Regions from separate parts of the Homo sapiens genome. Here region 2 is linked to region 1. Evidence: promoter capture Hi-C in human tissues and cell types (Jung and others, 2019). All regions are on one chromosome and are shown on one strand. The core of a region is centred on a gene start or on the middle of the fragment in contact, and the rest is flanking DNA. Distances in the headings are between cores, read along the strand shown. Region 1 holds the start of RNF217 (ring finger protein 217). Region 2 overlaps RNF217 (ring finger protein 217).

What was found. The method cuts DNA at HindIII sites, captures the fragments that hold promoters and counts their contacts. A contact is called where the count stands out against the background at its distance.
Region 2: a fragment that was not itself captured here is called in contact with the fragment with the promoter of RNF217 in region 1 in 2 of the 25 tissues and cell types used here (mesenchymal stem cells and mesendoderm cells).

The regions. Positions count from the first base shown.
Region 1 is chr6:124,959,992-124,965,821 of GRCh38, forward strand. RNF217 (ring finger protein 217) reads left to right here and starts at 2,446. Exons shown (of 6, transcript NM_001286398.3): 1 at 2,446-3,435. The coding sequence starts at 2,554. It overlaps RNF217-AS1 (RNF217 antisense RNA 1), which reads right to left and starts at 3,036. Exons shown (of 7, transcript NR_026876.1): 1 at 2,832-3,036. The HindIII fragment of the contact is 7,226 bases long and covers 1-3,934 here.
Region 2 is chr6:125,022,885-125,028,297 of GRCh38, forward strand. All of the region lies in intron 1 of RNF217 (ring finger protein 217), which reads left to right. Among named protein-coding and RNA genes, the nearest start is that of RNF217-AS1, 63 kb to the left of the region's middle. The HindIII fragment of the contact is 4,143 bases long and covers 177-4,319 here.

The sequences.
Region 1 (5,830 bases), core at 1,196-3,695:
AGGATATTAGTGATAGTACTTACGTTGTATCAACAGTTGTGTACAACCTGAGATGGAGCAGATGGTTTGAGTTTTGAGAATATTAAGCTTGTGGCAGATAAATGGAATTTTTGCTAAAATATTAAATATTGGTTAATAAAATATTTTCAACCAATCCTTCTTTAAATAATTAATCCCATCGAAACAATCATTACTGGTGCTTCATGCACTTCAGAGAAAATTCATTGTGGAACCACGATGTTAACTTTTCAATTTAATTCACTTCCATGCTGCTGGAGTCCCATGAGCACTAGATTGAATGCCAGGGGTGGTGGGTCAAGGATTCAGGCAAGTTTGGGCCAATTTGGAGGGTGGAAATAGGGAACCACATATTATTCTATTTTCACAAAGGCCCAATGAATTCTGTAGGGAAGAAGTCATGGCAAAATAAAGGGCTGCAGTTTTAAGCAGCAGAGATATGGGCGGCCATCATGAGTCCCAGCAGGGACTTCTAATGGGTTTGGTGTAGAGGACAGCCACTTCCAGTAAGCTGGAACCTAAGGGATAAGGAATAAAATGGTAAACACTGGAAGAACAAGTTCTCAGAATACGAGTGAAAAATGTGTGTGAGGAGGGGTTCCCAAAACTATAAGAGGACTTTGAGGGGTTTTATTCCAATAGACGCTGTGGGAATATACTTTTTGGCATCCATTATTGTTACTCTGGTCTTAGCCTGTTGTCACCTGGAAAATGCAGATTACTTTTATATCTCTGGAAAGAATAGTGGCTTGGTCATCAGATGGCACACTCAAAAGGCACACATAAGTAGGTTTCTTGTCTCTGTCTTTAAAACAATAAGCACTTAAAGTATCATTTGGAGAAAACAGCAGTTACCAGGAAATCACTTAGCTGAGATAAAAAAGAAAAGAATCCTCGAATAGCATTTAATCTTCAAAATAAGAATTTTCCATTCTTGGGTCAGACCGATAGATGACATGGCATTTAGACATCCAATTCATACCTTTGCTTGCAACTGAGCCTCAGACACACATATATGATGGAAATGTTCTTTGGCATTACACTGCTTTCTTAGTTTGCATCGCTAGTCACCTTTGTATCATTTGCATCTGATTTGGAAAATATTTTAGAACAACCCAATAACAACTTCGAGATTAAAAAATAAAATTCTACACACTTTACAGTTCCTTGCTATTACATGAATGTGTAAATTGAATTCCCTCTCAGGAGAAAAAAAACAAAACAAGGGCTGGCTTCCCAAAAATGTTTTCACTGGCTTTAGGGAACTAAAACACCAGTGTCTGGGTGAGTAATACTTCCTGTAAAATAAAGATAGATCAACACATAATTAAGTCCTGGCTCACATATAATTGTTGTTTTGGAAACAGTTTTGAGGATAAATATGGTTATGCTAATGAAACTGCCCATGATTTCCACTAATGATCCAGTTTATTAATTAGGTCAGGACATTTTTCCACCTTGTGCTATCCATTTTGGAATGCTGAAAAGGGTTAAAAAAAAAAACTTCTAAGAGAACACTGTAGGCGAAGAAAAAGAGAGAAATTTTAAATTAGTTATCAACTCTTCTAAGGATTCCAGTTGGAGGAGTAGATCGAAAGTGCTTTTTCGATTATTTATGGGTTTCGAAGATTCTTCCTACTCCACTAGGCAGAAAAACAGAGTTGTAATATACAGCATTTAGAATTCATAATCCTTAGCATTATTTCTCTGAACTCGACATCCTAAATAGCCAGCGTTTACTAATTCCAGAGCTGAGTGTAGTTTTGTAGGAAGTTCTACTGAATGCGGAGACCAAAGGGGAGCCTGCCTGCTCTGAGGGTTTTGTTGAGGCTGAGTGTGAACTCCGGGCGAGAAAGCGCATCTCAGCTCTTAGATCACACCCACTCAGGGTGTGCGTGTGTGTGTGCGCGGGTGCCTGCGCGCGTGTGTACGTGTGGGGAGGTGTGCGCCAAAGGGGTGGGGTGAGGGGCGGCGAGGAGGGCTGTAGGTGAAGCGCGGGGAGAGGGAGGTCGCCCGCTCCGGCCTCTCCCCCAGGGGCCCTGCGGCTGGCCAGCGCTCCGGCTGCACCTCCTGGTGCGCGCCGCGGCGGCGCCACAGGCCCCTCGACCCTTTGACCACCGCCCTCGGGCCGCGCGTCCGGCAGCCGGGACCGGTGATGGCGCGGGACTGACGGCCGTCTCCTCCCAGACCCCTCTGTCCCGCCTGGGGCTCGCTGGGGCTGCGGCGCCGCCCCGAGCTGCATGTGGGGCGGGCGCGCCCGAGCCCAGAGCGAGCGGCCCTCGGCGCCCCCGAGGCGGTGCCCCGCCGCGCCAGAGTACGAGGAGGAGCGGCGGGCCGGGCCAGGCTCCCCACGCGCCGCAGCCTCGGAGCACGGGCTCCCCGGAGGGGACTTGGGGCGTCCCAGCCCAGGAGGAAGGACCCGGAAGCAGAAGCGGAGCCGCGAGTCGAGCCGAGCCACTGCCCCCGCTGCCCGCGGGCGCCGGGTGGGGGTCCCGGCGGCTGGATGGGCAGCGGCGGCGCGGGCCGCGGGCGGCGATGGGCGAGGAGCAGAGCACGGTGAGCGGCGGCGGCGGGCCCCAGGAGTCGCAGACCCTGGCCAGTGGCACTGCGGGCCACCCTGAGCCCCCGAGGCCTCAGGGGGACAGCGCCCGGGCGCCCCCGCTGCGCGCCGCCTCCGCGGAGCCGAGCGGCGGTGGCTGCGGAAGCGACTGGGGCTGCGCGGACACCAGCGCCCCAGAGCCCGCGAGGAGCCTGGGGCCCCCGGGCTGGAGTAAGAGCCGAGCACCGGCGCAGCCTGCGGGACTGGCACTCACCGGGCCTCTCAATCCCCAGACCTTGCCACTGCAGTTGGAGCTGGAGGAGGAAGAGGAGGAAGCTGGGGATCGAAAAGAGGGAGGGGATGAACAGCAGGAGGCGCCCCCCGGCGAAGAGCTGGAGCCCAGGACCCGCGTGGGGGCCGCCGACGGACTGGTCCTGGACGTGCTGGGTCAGCGGCGCCCGTCCCTCGCCAAGAGACAAGTCTTCTGCTCCGTGTACTGCGTGGAGAGCGACCTGCCCGAGGCCCCCGCCTCGGAGCAGCTCTCGCCGCCCGCGTCGCCACCTGGGGCTCCGCCAGTGTTGAACCCTCCCAGCACCCGCTCTTCCTTCCCCAGCCCCCGACTGTCCCTCCCAACGGATTCCCTCTCCCCCGACGGCGGCAGCATCGAGCTGGAGTTCTACCTGGCGCCCGAGCCGTTCTCCATGCCCAGCCTGTTGGGAGCTCCACCCTACTCTGGCCTGGGCGGTGTAGGGGATCCCTATGTGCCCCTCATGGTGCTGATGTGCCGGGTGTGCCTGGAAGACAAGCCCATCAAGCCCCTGCCTTGCTGCAAGAAGGCCGTGTGCGAGGAGTGCCTCAAAGTCTACCTGAGCGCCCAGGTAACTTCACCCCCTTCTCTTCCCCATTTATCATTCCAAATCACTGGCGAGGAGGTCCTGCTCTCGATCTGATCTCCCTGCTCGCGCGAAGAGGTGACCGACACACTTACTGAGGATCTCTGTTAGTTTCTCACGTCTCAGTTGTTATTTAAGTGTATTATGACCTCACTGGTTTACTTAACTGGAATTTAACTTTGCTGTGAACTTCAGGCTATGGTTGGCATGTGTAGAAGGCACAAGATACAAGTTGTTGCCCTCCTCTTATTTCTTATACAGGATTGCAAGCACAAGCTTGCTCAAAGGAGGAGAGGAAGAGACTGCCTCATCGGCCTGGTATCCCAGAAACTAACAAGCAGTGGGCATAGAATAAATATTTATGGAGCTGGTGGAGAAAAGAATTGGAATAAATATTTCAGACCCATAATACATGAATTTGTAATTTTGCTTCATTTGTATATTCCAGGAAAGAGTGAATGTTTAAAAAAATGTATCCCTTGGCCTTTGCCTACTTTTCAGTTTCCTTTTTCCACAGTAAAGTTGAAGTACTTTTCTTTCACTGAGGTTTTAAGCCAGCACTCTTTAAGAGGGAAGCAAAACAGAAAGAGCAAAACAAAGCAAAGAGAGGCTAAGAGGTTTCTCAGAACAAGCACTGGTGAAACTTTCCTCCTCTGCTTTTATTTGAAAACTTGGTTTTTTTTCTTGGAAAGCTTGAGAGTGCACCAGACCAGCTTTCCTTCACTGACGGTGAATGCGTTCTTCCAGCAGTTTTCAATCTGTGATGTTTCTGCCAGTGTTTTGCACAATCCTGGATGCCCTTTGATCCTGTGTCCAATTGTCCTAGGCCTATTCATCTTTCAAAACCCTGTGTGTTCAGGTGCCAACTCTTCTGTGAAGCGTTGCCTCACCCTCCAAGTCACTGCTTATATACTTTCACAGTATCTTATATTATCTTACATGCACTGAAGTTGTTTCTTTCGTGTCTGCTTGTCTTGTTAGACTGTCTGGACAATGTCTTAGAGTCCCATATGTGGTAGCTTCATGTTGAGTCCCTTGCCCATCATAGTGTTTTTAATAACATTGGCTGGGACAAACTGAACAGGGCTCCGTACCATGTGATTCCTCTATGTTTTTTGGCTAACTCATGCTTGGGTCTAGACTGAAAGTGTGTACAGTCCCTAACTAAAAATGCAAACAAAGACTTAAAACGGTATGTTACATAAACAGTAAGTTGGCTAAAATAGTTGGGATTATTTAAAAGCCTCTGAGAGACTGTTGTTTCTTTCATGCTTTATCTACAGAGATTCTTAAAACAGGAGGAATGTCTGCTGCTGGTTGTGGTAGTTTCTGTATCATCATCCTCAAAACAGATTTCGCTGCCCTGCGATGGGATTCAGACATTTCCAAAATATAAGCCCGCCTCCAGGGAAGTCACTGTGAGAGCAGATGTGTACAAAAGAACAATACAAGGTAGCATGGGATGAGATGTCAATAGAGTAACAATTCCAGATAGCACTTCCTGTTAAATGCTGGATACACATTCCAGAAATTCAAGGGAGGTAGTCATTGTGGCTTGGGGTACTTTACCTAGCAGTTTGATTTCCTTATGGTGGGCCCTTTCCCCAAAGCAGTTTTCTTTTTCTTTATTAAACCTCATAAGTTAGTTTTAGGAAGTTTTAGTAATGGTAGTAGGGAGACAGAGGGACATAGTCAAGTGGTCATTGCAGTGTACAGTACAACCACTAAAAACTCCTCTGCAGTGACACAGTATCTGAAGCTTGTCTGCAGCATTTCTGATTGTATGTATGTGCCTGACCTTCTTCCAAAGTATTTGCTGGGACTTTCAATAAATAATAATACACATTATTGGCCGGGTGCGGTGGCTCACGCCTGTAATCCCAGCACTTTGGGAGGCTGAGGCAGGTGGATCACCTGAGATCGGGAGTTCAAGACCAGCCTGACCAACATGGTGAAACCCCGTCTCTACTAAAAATACAAAATTAGCTGGGCATGGTGGCGCATGCCTGTAATCCCAGCTACTTGGAAGGCTGAGGCAGAAGAATCACTTGAACCCAGGAGGCAGAGGTTGCAGTGAGCCAAGATCACATGATTGCACTCCAGCCTGGGCAACAGAGTGAGACTCCTCTCAAAAAAAAAGAAGAATATACATTATTTAAAATAATAAACAGCAACAAAAAGATGAGTCATAGATACCGGGCATGCTTTCACCTCAGGGCTTTTGTACTTGGTTTTCCCTGTTCCAGGAAGGTTCCCTCCATGGCCCTCTTATCTGCTCACTGCACTCCTTTTCAGGGCTATATTCAAATGTCATGCCCTGTGACTTTCACTGACCACCCTTTTAAAAATTGAGCCTCACCCCACGCTCTCTCTCTTTTTT
Region 2 (5,413 bases), core at 998-3,497, 63 kb after region 1:
ATTTAGAAAAACCTCACACTATCTCTATTAACCTCTTTTTGAATTTCAACAATTATTTCTTAAGCACCTACTTTATGTCAGGTTAGTGAGCAAGGTATTAGAGATGCCAGAATAAACAAGGCACAGTTTCTGCCCTCAAAGAATTTATAGGATAATAGGGAAAACAAACAATTTTGCTAGAATAGGATAAGTAAAAATGACAGGAATAAGCACAGGTTGCTACAGGAGCAAGTCTTGTTAAGGATCACCTGATACAGTTTTGAGGTATTACAAAAGGCTTCCAAAAGAATTTGATGTCTGAGGTAAGACCTGAAGGATTTAAGCAAGAAAAATATGTGTAAAGTATGTCCTGGGTAGAACAAAAGCATGCGGAGGAGCCCAGAGGCAAAATCAAATATGATTGAGGCATAGCCTGCAATGGGGCAAAAGGGAGTCCAGAAAAGTGGTCACATTTTCACATGGAGGGAGTTTTCACTTTATCCTGAACACAAGGGCATTATTGAAGTATTTTAATTAGTGGAGTTGTATGATCAGACTTGTGTTGTAAAAAGAGTGCTCCAGAGAAGAGGGCACCCTTGTATACTGTTGGTGGGAATGTAAAGTAGTACAGCCATTACAGAAGACAGTATGGAGGATCCTCAAAAAACTTAAAATAGAACTGCCAGATGATCCAGAATCTCACTATTGCATCTATATCTCAAGGAAATGAAATTAGTATGTTGAAGAGATATCTGTACTCCCATGCTCATTGTGCCCTGTTCACAATAGCCAAGATATGGAAACCACCTAAGTGCCCATTGATAGATGAGTGGATAAAGAATATCTAGTATATTTAACAATGGGATGTTAATCAGTCTTTAGAAAGAAGGAAATACTGTCATTTGCAGCAATATGGATGAACCTGGAGGACATTACGTTGAGTAGGATAGACCAGGCACAGAAAGACAAATGCCACATGGTCCCCCTTTATATATGGAATCTTAAAAAGTCAAACTCATAGAAGCAGAAAGCAGAATGTTGGTTACCAGGGGATGGGCATGGGGGGAAAAGGACTAAGGAGATGTTGTTCAAGACATGCAAAATTTCTGTTAGGAGGAATAAGTTCAAGCAACCTATTGTACAGTATGGTGACTATAGTTAGTAACAATGCATTGTATACTTGAAAATTGCCAAGAGAGTAGATTTTAAGTACTTTCACTGCAAATAAATAAATATGTGAGGTAAACAAAATGAAACAAAGAGTACTCCAAAGCCTGGACTAAGTAGCATTGGAGATCAAAAGATGTAAATGATTGTTTGAAGAATTAATAAAGTAGGATTTTGTTGATGGTTGAGGGAGAGAGGAAGCAGAAGAAAAGTCGGGAGGGGATATTACTTTGCTTTCTGTGCCATTTTCATGATAAGGAACATGAAGGAGGCCAGGCACGGTGGCTCACGCCTGTAATCCCAGCACTTTGGGAGGCTGAGGCAGGCGGATCACCTGAGCTCAGGAGTTCGAGACCACCCTGAGCAACACGGTAAAATCCCATCTCCACTAAAATACCAAAAATTAGCCAGGCATGGTGGTGCACGCCTGTAATCCCAGCACTTTGGGAGGCTGAGGCAGGCGGATCACCTGAGCTCAGGAGTTCGAGACCACCCTGAGCAACACAGTAAAATCCTGTCTCCACTAAAATACCAAAAATTAGCCAGACATAGCGGTGCATGCCTGTAATCCCAGCTACTCGGGAGGCTGAGGCACGAGAGAATCTCTTGAGCCCGGGAGGCAGAGGTCGCAGTGAGCCAAGATCATGCCACTGCACTCCAGCCTGGGTGACAGGGTAAGACTCTGTCTCAAAAAAAAAAAAAAAAAAAAATGAAAGTGGGCAGTCAGGGGGACATGGGAAGTGATGAGTTTGTTTTTAGACTGTTGAGTTTGAGGTATTTGACTGAAGACATCAAGTAGGGAATTAAACGTAGATATCAGAAGCTTAGTATAGAGATCTGGACTGGTGTTTTAACATGTGGGAGCTTGCACTGTATATATATGTGGAGTTGAAACCATGGGAGTGGAAGAGTAACTAACCCTCAGAAAGATTAACCAATGAGAACAATCCATTATAAATGCAACCTCAGAGACTCAGGAAGCCTTAAAGGATAGATGCAGGGAAAATCCACAAAGGAGGATACAGGGGACAGAAAGAAGTCAGGAAAATCAGGAATGTGATGTGCTAGAGGTCAAGAAAGAAACAGAACTCAACAGTGTCAGATGTTGCAAAGGAGGCAGTAAAGTAAGGATTCAAATGGACATTTAGTAACCAGAAGGTGATTGATAATTTTGTAGAGAATGACTGAAAGTCATTTCAAGGAGGAGGTGAGACAGATAGCAGTGGGTTTTTTAATGTGGACGTGAACACAAGAACATTAAATAATCTTTCATTTGGCTTGGCTGCAAATGGACAGATGATAAGGACTGGAGACCAAGGCACACAATCCTAACGAGTTTTTTGTTTTCTTTTGCTTTTATAGTGGGAGAAACTTGAGCATGCTTATCAGTTTGAGTGTCTGAAGTTAGCAGAGGGAGGTGAGATTCCTGACAAGGCAGGTGGAAATAATCATCCTAGAAATTTTGCAAAGTCCTGCTTTCTACCGAGGAGGGAGGGAGGAAGGGATATTTCCAAAGGAAGGAAGGAAGGAAGGAAGAAAAGAAGGAAGGGAGGGAGGGAGGGAGGGATATTTCCAAATGTACTCCCTTATGAGTGGGGAACAGAAAGTTGAAGGTGTTCTAAGGAAGGGAGGGAGTGAGGAAAGAAGGGAGGGATATTTCCAAATGTACTCCCTTATGAGTGGGGAACAGAAAGTTGAAGGTGTTCTAGGGAGGGAGGAAGGGAAGGAGGGAGGGAGGGAGGGAGGGAAGGAAGGAAGGAAGGAAGGGATATTTACAAATGTACTCTCTTATGAGTGGGGAACAGAAAGTTGAAGGTGTTCTCAGCTGATCCTGTTGGATTTTTATTCTGTCAAGTACAAGGTGAAGTTTTTGACTGTGTGCATATTGGTCAGTTGAAAGGAAAAGTTAAGAGTAAGGCCTTGAAGAGGGAGGTGAAATGGTTCATGGGTAAGAAAGAAGCACCCCAGAGGGTCCCAGAGAAGGTTGCTGCTCAGTGATGATAGCCCATATGATCGTGGAGACCATCTGCTTGTCCACAGCACTGAGGGAGATGAAAGTTAGACTGCTTGTACTTTTCAAAGTATCACATCCAAAAATGTATTACCTGCCTTTGATGAAGTACTTAAGAATTCTCAGTGGCCGCTAGCAACATGGCATTATTATTCTAAGCAGCCAGTTTTGCAAAACCTGGGTAGACATCTGCAGTGACACAGTGGCAATGTGTCCAGGCTCTGCCAGTGACTAACATTGAATTAAAGCTTTAGTACTTTCTTTCTGGGTGACCTTGGGCAAACTAATTCTGTACTTGGGATCCTGGTAGGGTCTTTATCAGGAGTAACTGAGGTTAATCAATGGAAAATGCTTAGAATAGTGCCTGGCACATACTAAACGCTCAACAAATGTTAGCTGCTGCTATCATCATCATCGTCATCATTATCATTAAGTTTATTGTGATAATAGGATAAATTTCTAGGATGATACAATTCAAGCCTTTAGAGCATTGAGAGCGTAAACGTGTCATCAGTACTCCACATTTCTGTGTAGAAAGAATGACAAAAGGTATTCCTGTTTTGGGGAAGATAACTTTGAAACAAGTATTTAAAACATTTCTCTGAGAAAAAAAAAAGGGAATCACAGTTAGGTGCTATACAAGTCAGCTTTTTTTAGGTAGGGAAGGTTGCATATTCAGTCCTTAAACTCTGCAAGAATTGCACTGCTTCCCTGTGTGACTCTTGACCCTGTGGAAGACAAGTGGGGTGTGAAATCTGCCCAAATCATCTCCCTTACTGGATGAAAAAAATGAAAACAAATTAAAATGAACTGTGATATACTAGTTATAGAGTAGTATTATTTTCACATGCAAAGAGTAATTGTGTTTTGGATACAGTAAATATTAATATTAATATATTAATGTTTATTATATTTGTTGAATGAACATGACATAATTTGTACCATTCTTTTTTAAATTTTTTAAACTATTTTTTAACATTTTTGTGGGTACATAGTAGGTGTATATATTTATGGAATATATGAGCTGTTTTGATGTAAGCATGCAGTGTGAGATAAGCACATCATGGAGAATGAGGTATCCATCCCCTCAAGTATTTATCCTTTGAGTTACAAAAAATCCAATTACATTAAGTTATTTTAAAATACACAATTAAGTTATTATTGACTGTAGTGATCCTATTGTGCTATCAAATAGTAGGTCTTATTCATTCTTCCTGGGCTTTTTTGTACCCATTAACCATCCCTACCTCCCCGCCAATGCCCAACTACCCTTCCCAGCCTCTAGTAACCATCCTTCTACTCTCTATGTCCGTGAGTTCAATTGATGTGATTTTTAGATCCCAGAAATAAGTGAGAACATGCAATGTTTGTCTTTCTTTGCCTGGCTTATTTCACCTAACAGAATAATCTGCAATTTCCTCCATATTGTTGCAAGTGACAGGATGTCATTCTTTTTTATGGCTGAATAGTACTCCATTGTGTATATGTACCACATTTTCTTTACCATTTGTCTGTTGATGGACACTTAGGTTGCTTCGAAATCTTAGCTGTTGTAAACAGAGCTGCAACAAACAGAAGTGTAGAGATCTCTTCAATATACTGACTTCCTCTCTTTTGGGTATATACCCAGCAGTGGGATTGCTGGATCATATGGTAGCTCAATTTTCAGTTTTTTGAGGAACCTCCAAACTGTTGTCCATAGTGGTTGTACTAATTTACATTCCCACCAAAAGTGTACAAAGGTTCCCTTTTCTCCATATCCTCACCAGTATTTGTTATTGCCTGTCTTTTGGATACAAGCTGTTTTAACTGGGGTGAGACGGTATCTCTTGTAGTTTTGATTTGCATTTCTCTGACATCAGTGATGTTGAGCATCTTTTCATATGCCTGTTCACCATTTATTCAAATCATTGCCCATTTTTTAATCAGATTATTAGATTTTTTCCTGTAGGGTTGTTTGGACTCCTTATATATTCTGGTGATTAATTTCTTATCAGAGGAGTAGTTTGAAAATACTTTCTCCCATTCTGTGGGTTGTCTCTTCACTTTGTTGGTTATATCTTTGCTGTGTAGAAGCTTTTTAACTTAATGTGATCCCATTTGTCCAGGTTTGCTTTGGTTGCCTGTGTGTCCTATTCTTAATGCCAGATATAGTTTGTTAGTTTATCTTAATCCCCCTTTTTTGGTTCAGTACCCCTTTAAATATATGACAAAATCTGGGAGTATGTACTCCCAACAATGCACAGGTGAACAACA